Linked DNA regions of Homo sapiens: region 2 is linked to region 1. The links are contacts of gene promoters, found by promoter capture Hi-C in blood cells and fetal thymus (Javierre and others, 2016). All regions are on one chromosome and are shown on one strand. The core of a region is centred on a gene start or on the middle of the fragment in contact, and the rest is flanking DNA. Distances in the headings are between cores, read along the strand shown. Region 1 holds the start of SMIM47 (small integral membrane protein 47). Region 2 holds the start of KLK1 (kallikrein 1).

The links. The method cuts DNA at HindIII sites, captures the fragments that hold promoters and counts their contacts. A CHiCAGO score of 5 or more calls a contact.
Region 2: the fragment with the promoter of KLK1 here is called in contact with the fragment with the promoter of SMIM47 in region 1 in 2 of 17 cell types (activated CD4 T cells and neutrophils); the score reaches 6.6 in activated CD4 T cells.

The regions. Positions count from the first base shown.
Region 1 is chr19:50,784,292-50,787,856 of GRCh38, forward strand. SMIM47 (small integral membrane protein 47) reads right to left here and starts at 1,869. Exons shown (of 3, transcript NM_001384597.1): 1 at 1,799-1,869; 2 at 1,651-1,710; 3 at 1,437-1,532. The coding sequence starts at 1,813. The coding sequence ends at 1,521. It overlaps LOC105372439 (a long non-coding RNA gene), which reads right to left. Exons shown (of 4, transcript XR_936026.3): 4 at 3,090-3,565. The HindIII fragment of the contact is 13,889 bases long and covers 1-3,565 here.
Region 2 is chr19:50,821,820-50,825,605 of GRCh38, forward strand. It overlaps KLK1 (kallikrein 1), which reads right to left and starts at 1,968. Exons shown (of 5, transcript NM_002257.4): 1 at 1,884-1,968; 2 at 1-52. The coding sequence starts at 1,929. KLK15 (kallikrein related peptidase 15) reads right to left here. Exons shown (of 6, transcript NM_017509.4): 6 at 3,470-3,786. The HindIII fragment of the contact is 16,614 bases long and covers 1-3,786 here.

The sequences.
Region 1 (3,565 bases), core at 619-3,118:
TGCCTGTAATCCCAGTACTTTGGGAGGCTGGGGCAGGTGGATCACCTGACGTTGGGAGTTCGAGACCAGCCTGACCAACATGGAGAAACCCCATCTCTACTAAAAATACAAAATTAGCCAGGCGTGGTGGCGCATGCCTGTAATCCCAGCTACTCGGGAGGCTGAGGCAGGAAAATTGCTTGAACCCAGGAGGTGGAGGTTGCAGTGAGCTGAGATTGCACTGTTGCACTCCAGCCTGGGCAACAAGAGCAAAACTCTGGGAAGAAGGAAGGAAGGAAGGAAGGAAGGAAGGAAGGAAGGAAGGGAGGGATGGAAGGAAATTTGTTGGGCTTTTTCAGGAAAACCTAGCACGTGCAGTCAACCCTACTCCAAAGCTGGCTTTTCAGATATTGAGCTGAAATGAAATTGCTTTTGACTAGATGAGAAGGTAGGTGAAATGCAATTGAAGGTGGAAGTGTCCCCCAGGGCATTGACCTGAGGATGCTGGAGGTAGAGGCAGGGGGTGGGGGAAGGGCGCTAAGCAAGGGGGCTGCTAGCGAACTGCCTGTGGGGGCGGGTCTGCACATTTTTATAGGAAGGGACATTGCTGGTGGGTGTTGAAGGTTAAATAGGAGTTTGTTAAGAAAAGAGGCTGAGCACAGTGGCTCACACCTGTAATTCCAACACTTTGGGAGGCTGAGGTAGGAGGATTGCTTGAGGCCAGGAGTTAGAGACCAGCTTGGGTGACATAGTGAGACCCTGTCTCTAAAAAAAATTAAAAAGTTAGCTGGGCATGGTGGTGAACACCTACAGTCCCAGCTACTCAGGAGGCTGAGGCAGGAGGACTGCTTGAGCCTGGGAGTTCAGGGTTGCAGTGAGCTATGATCATACCACTGCACTCTAGCCTGGGCAATAGAGTGAGATCTCATCTCAAAAAGAAAAGAAAAAAGAGGAAGATGTGTTGATACAGTATGACAGTGATGAAGATGATGACGATAACTACAGACCCACTGCAGCTGACAAAGTGCATTCACATTTTGGATCTCTGGCTGCCCTGGCTGTGGTTTTTTGGGGCCCATTGGACAAAGATTTTCGCCTTTGTCTGATGGAGAAGAAATCACGGGATCAAGGGAAATAACAAATCCGAAGTACACAGCAGCCTGTGTTGGTGCCGGGTGCTCAATGTGCCCTGCTTGTTCTTCCCTCTGTGCCCTTACACCAGGTTGAAATGTTCTTCCTCTTCTTGGAATTTCCCCACAGACTCCTACTCATCCCTGAAAACCCAGCGCAGATTCCCAGCTCCTAGCCTCAAACCTGCGAGGGTGGGTCCTCACCACTCTCCTACCTCAGACCCTGGAGTCCGGACCCCCACCCCACTCCCTTCTGAAACACAGAGCCCCAGGTGTGGTGTAGGCCCGAGGCCGGGCGCAAGGGCAGTGGGTCGGCGGAGCAGGATGTGCGGATTCAGTTACATTTATCTGGCCTCAGAGCGATGGCAGAGGGAGAGGCAGGGCTCTTGTGCGGGGAGGTCCTGTGTCTTCTCACTGCTGAGCCTGAGAGAGGAAAACAGGGACATATACAGAGATGTGGGAGAGAAAGAGAGACCAAGATGACAGAACTGGACCAGGGAGACAGAGACTCAGCCCCCACCTCCGCTCTTCTCCCGCTCACCTTGTTGAAGAAATAGATGGAGGTCAGGATGGTGAACAAGGCCATGGCCAGGGTCACATTCTGGGGGGGAGATCAGAGGTCAGGACCCTTCCCCTCCCTGCCCTCTGCCCAGCCCCAGGCCTCCCTTCCCTGCCAGACCCCTCCTCACTTCCTGAAAGTTCATGGCCTTGGGACTCCAGCCACCCCTTGGTTGGTCTTCTCTCTCTTTCCTGGGCCTCTGAGCCAGAGGGGGGAGAAGCCACTGGAACTCCGAGAGGGGGTTGTCGGAGAGACCAGAATGGTGGCCATGGCAACGGGGAAAGGGCATTCTGGTAGAGGGGACAGGCAGGGGCATAGGGCAGATACAGACCCTGGTGTGGCCCGCCACATGTGGTGTCTGAATGTGACATCGGGACGTGTGAGATTGGAGAGTCTCAACCCTGAACACCATACTGAGGTGTTTGGGTTTTGCCCCGGAGGGTGCTGGGGAGCCATGAGAGGGTTGAGAGCAGGGGAGGGACCAGGTCAGTTCTGGGTATAGAAATATCTCAAAACAGGAGCCTGCAGGCCAGGAGAACAGTAAGGGAGGCCCAGGCAAAATTTCCTCCTCCAGATGGGAGGATCACTTGAGCCCAGGGGGTTGAGGCTGCCATGAGCCAAGATCACGCCACTGCACTCCAGCCTGGGCAAGAGTGAGATCCTGTCTCCACAACTAACAACTAAGAAAAAATAAAATAAAATACATATGATACATTTGTGAGATACCTATTTACCTATCTATCGCTACCACAAAAATGGGGACTATACAATCTGCTACTCAGGTAGCTATTTGCGTTATTTGTGGCAGATATAGTCTCGCTATTTTTGGTAGTTATGTTGTACAACTGTGAACACTTATTGGGGAAATATATGTGTGTGTGTGTATATGTATACACACACACACACACACACACACACACACACACACACAAACACATATATATAGGGTTGGGTGCAGTGGCTCATGCTTGTAATCCCAACACTTTGGTTAAGTGAGACAGTAGAATTGCTTGAGCCCAGGAGTTCAAGGCCAGCCTGGGCAACATTGTAAGACCCCATCTCTTTAAATATATATAAATATAGGCCAGGTGCCGGTGGCTCACACCTGTTTTCCCAACACTTTGGGAGGCCGGGGCGGGAGGATCACCTGAGGTCAGGAGTTTGAGACCAGCCTGGCCAACATGGCGAAACTCCATCTCTACTAAAAAACAAAAAAACAAAAAAATTAGCCGGGCATGGTGGTGCACGCCTGTAGTCCCAGCTATTTGGGAGGCTGAGGCACCAGCAACACTTGAACCCCAGGCGGAGGAGGTTAAATTGAGCCGAGATTGTGCCACTGCACTCTAGCCTGGGCAACAGAGCGAGACTCCATCTCAAAATAATAATAATAAATAAAAATAAATAAATAAATAGAAAATAAATAGAAAAATATATACTTTTATTAATGAAGCAATGGGTCCTTATTTGCTGATTCAGTGGTCACAGTTATACAACATCGCTACTATGAATAACAAGAATTGATTGTAAACACGGTACCTCACGGCACTACCCAGAACATTCCAGAAGGCAACACATTCTGCAGAGCAAACGGCACCGTCTCTCCAACAAATCCATGCCACAGTGCAAAACAAAAGCAAGTAGCCTTGCTATATTTGAAAAAAATCCGTTAAGAGACACAAGACCAGCTTTGAGGGGTGATCCTGGACCGGGTTTTGGCTTGGACAAAACAAGTTATAAAGGCTCTTTGTGGGTGGAGGCCGAGGTGGGCGGATCACCTGAGGTCAGGAGTTTGAGACCAGCCTGGCCAACATGGTGAAACCCTGTCTCTACTAAAAATACAAAAATTAGCCAGGTGCAGTGGTGTGCACCTATAGTCCCAGCTACTCAGGAGGCTCAG
Region 2 (3,786 bases), core at 718-3,217, 38 kb after region 1:
TGCTCACACTCCCAGCCTCCCACAATCCGGGACTGAATCGGGGGCGCAGCACCTGCAGAGGCGGTGCTGGGTCAGGAAGGGCAGGGTTGGCAGGAGAGGCCAGGGACAAGGCTAGGAGAGGGAGCTGGGCTGTGGGTCTGAAGGGACATTGCGGGTAGAGGACCAGGGCTGGAGGTTGGGGACATGGGCAAGGGGTGTTGGGAAGGGGTGGGACTCTGGACTGTTCCCTGGGCTTTTGGAGTGGTGGCTGGACCTGGTGGGGAGATTTTGTGCTCTGACAGTAGAGCAGCCTCCAGGGATCAGGGTAGGAGACAGGAGACAGTGTCTGGAGCAGACACTGCATCTGGGCGTCAGGTCATTTGGGGTCTGGGGCTGGGGGATGGGAGGTGGTGGGTTAGGGGAGTGGAAAGGGATTCTGGAAACCAGGGATCAAGGCGCCAAGGGTGGGACAGGATCAGAGGCTCACTGAGGAAGAATCTGGAGGGCTAAGGGGCTCCTAGGCTAGGGAAACAGGACCTGGGTTGGGCTTTTGAGGTTCAGGAAAGGATGCAGCTTTAGGGAACCAGGTCTGAGAGGTAAAGAAGAGCATCTGGACTGAAGAGTTTGGGGGTGACTTGGGGTCCCTACATTGGGGTTGGAAGGGGCCAGCTTGGCTGGGACAGTTAGATTTCAGGGCTTCCTGGTTAAAGGGTAAAAGAAAGGGCTATGGTTAAGGCTAGAGGTGGGCTTCCGAGAGGTTTTGGGGTCCTTCCTGTGAACCAGGAATGGCAATCTGAGGGGAGGTTGGGGCCCTGAGAACACAGTTGCGGTCAGGACTGGGACGGGGCTCAGGAGGAGGGAGGCGTGAGTGGCAGTCCTTCTCGGACAGGGTGAAGGATGGGATCTTCGTTTCTCATGGGGATGGGGTTCATGGTCTGAGGGTACTGGAAGGATATGGGGTCCTCTTGGAGGCAATCCTAGGAAGAGGATTGGAGAAGTGGTGAGAACAGGCGCCAAGCAGCTGTGGGAATGCAATGCAGGACCCACTTGACGTGAGGTTGTAGAATCACATACTGACTTGGGGGAGGCCAGGGCAGAAGCGCTGGCTGAGAAGGCATTCAGGATCCTTGGGGTGGGGTTCCAGAAAACCAGAGCTGTGTAGGAACAATTCAGGCAGAGAAGGGCTGGGGCCTGGGGCGGGATGGAACTTCCCCAAGGAAAGGAGCATGTGGTGGGAGGGTGTGGTGTTTTTCCTGGGAGAGCTGGGGGTGCTGGGTGGGAAGGGACATTTGCAGACCCCCCCCCATACCAGATGGGGGATCCCACATGCCAGTTTGGGAAGCAGGGTTTTCTGGTGAAATTTGGGGGACCCTGGAAGGACTGGGGAGACCAGATGTCAGGGTCTGGAGGACACAGTTGAGAGCGGACAGCTGGATGGAAAAAGTCACTGGAGTGTGGTGGGATTTGTAGACTCAGGAGCCAAATAGGTGGCCGCAGGGAACTAGGGGGCAGGAGGGGATGATCAGAGTCCTGTGGGGTGGGGGAAGCCCATGGGAGGGTTGGGGTCCTCCAGAGAGAGACAGAGATGGCCCAGAATCTGCCCCTTTGGTAAAGCGGTGGGACAGGGCGTTGGCTAGGGAAGAGGAGAAAGTACTGAGGCTTCCTGGGAGGAGCAGGAATCTGGTGTGGGAGTGAGCACTATGACAACATGGAGGAGCGGGGGTGGAAGTTTAGGGTGGGGCCGCGCAAGATAGATAAGAGCCGGGGCACCCCGGACTAGGATAGACTGTGGGCCAGAGGGATGAGGGTGGGGTGTTGGAGGGGAAGGTCTTATCGGGGGGGGATGTGAGGCCAGCAAGAGAATCAGGGCCCGTTCCCCCTCCCACATCCCCCCACTGTCTCACCAGTCCCCCCCAGGGACAGGGCGAGGCACAGAACCAGGAACCACATGGTGACAGAGGTGTCCAGGGGCCAGCAGGTGGAGGAACTGGGGAACCTCCCTGGGGAGGCTTTTAAAAGCCCTTATCCCCTCAGAGCCCCACCCCTGCCCTGCTGGCACCCAGATGTTGGCCAAGGCCCTTCCCCTGTTGCCTGGGGGCTGGACAATTGCCCCCCCCCCCTCCGATCCCCAGAGCTGTAGACGGGGAGGGAGAACCAGCACCTGTTCTGCAGGCCCTGGATCACGCTGGACGCATTCCTGGGGTTGAAGCCAGGTGGGGCAGGGCCTGTGGCTCTGGGGCTTTGCTCTGGGGAGCAGCCAGTGAGGCAAGGGGGGACTGAGGGGAAGCAGAAACAGGAAGACGGAGGAATCAGTGACCCCTGGTACAAAGCCCCATATACCTCAGTCTCAATTAAGGCCCTGCACCCCCAGACCTGGTGCCCTCAAACACCAGCAGTTAGGGCTCTGATTCCCTGCACCACTCGGAGCCAAGATACTAGCATCTCAGCTGCCAGTTCCCCCTGAAATATAAGCCTTGGCCTTCAGAATGCCCTGGTTCTTGCACTCCCAGACCCAGGACCTAGGTCCCCAAAGCTACTGTTCCTTTCATAATAAAATTTTGGGGTACACATCACCACATTCCTAGTGCCTCCAGATCCAGGAATGTGAAGTTTCAGGGGTCTCCCAGGGTAAGTTCTTTAGCATTACAAAATCCAGTGTCCCTCCCAAACAATGCTGGGGTCTCAATGAGCCTCCCACTTCTTGCTCCCAGTTATGGGTGCTCAACGTCCTGTCCTCCAAAGTCCCAGAGATCTGGACAACCTTCCCTCCCAGGTCAAGATCAGGCTAACCACAGATTCCAATGACCCTTCCCCCCCACCACCAGTACAATATTTAGGTCTCACGAGCCAGGTTCATGTACTTCAACATTCAGCGACCTTGAACATCACATTTTGTGGTCTCTGAAGATAATTAGGAACTAGATTCCTGCAGCCTCAATGGTAAACCCATAGGCTTCCAACAGGTTGTCTTGGCTTTTTGGTAAAATCAAAGCAGCTCAGAGTTCCAGCCTCTGCTGTATATCAGGGACCTGGCTAAGGAAAGGACAGTATTTGCCTTTTTGCCATGGCTACCAGGAAGCCCAGAACTAAATCTTTTTTTTTTTTTTTTTTTTTCTGAGATGGAGTCTTGCTCTGTCACCAGGCTGGAGTGCAGTGGCGCGATCTCGGCTCACTGCAACTCCTGCCTCCTAAGTTCAAGCGATCCTCCCACATCACCCTCCCAAGTAGCTAGGATTACAGTCGTGTGCCACCACGCCCGGCTAAATTTTTTTAGTATTTTTAGTAGAGATGGGGTTTCACCATGTTGGCCAGGCTGGTCTTGCACTCCTGACCTCAAGTGAGCCGCCCGCCTTGGCCTCCCAAAGTGCTGGGATTACAGGTGTGAGCCACCATGCCCGGCCCAGAACTAAACCTTAAAGAAAAAGCCATTCTTGGTAATCTAGTGTCTGTTAGGTCCTTTAACTGGGATCCAGAGATAGAGGGTATTTACTCAGTGCCAGACACGATTTTAATCAGTTCAGACGAATCATCTCATTTAATCCTCACAACAGCCCTTTGAAGTCAGCAATAAGATGGTCTCATTTTACAGATAAGGAAACCAAGGCGAAGTGAGATTGGGCCTCTTGTTCAAGATCACACGGGTGGTCATGTGTGTTGAATGAATGGAGCCCTGCTTCAAGCCGCTTCTCCTCACCTAGGGATCGGGGTGGTGGGTGAAAAGGAACAGTGTACAGTGTCTCGGGGTTTCTCTTTGACCCCAGAAAAAAGTCACAGAAATTCCTACAGAGCAACTTGGATCAGCGCTTT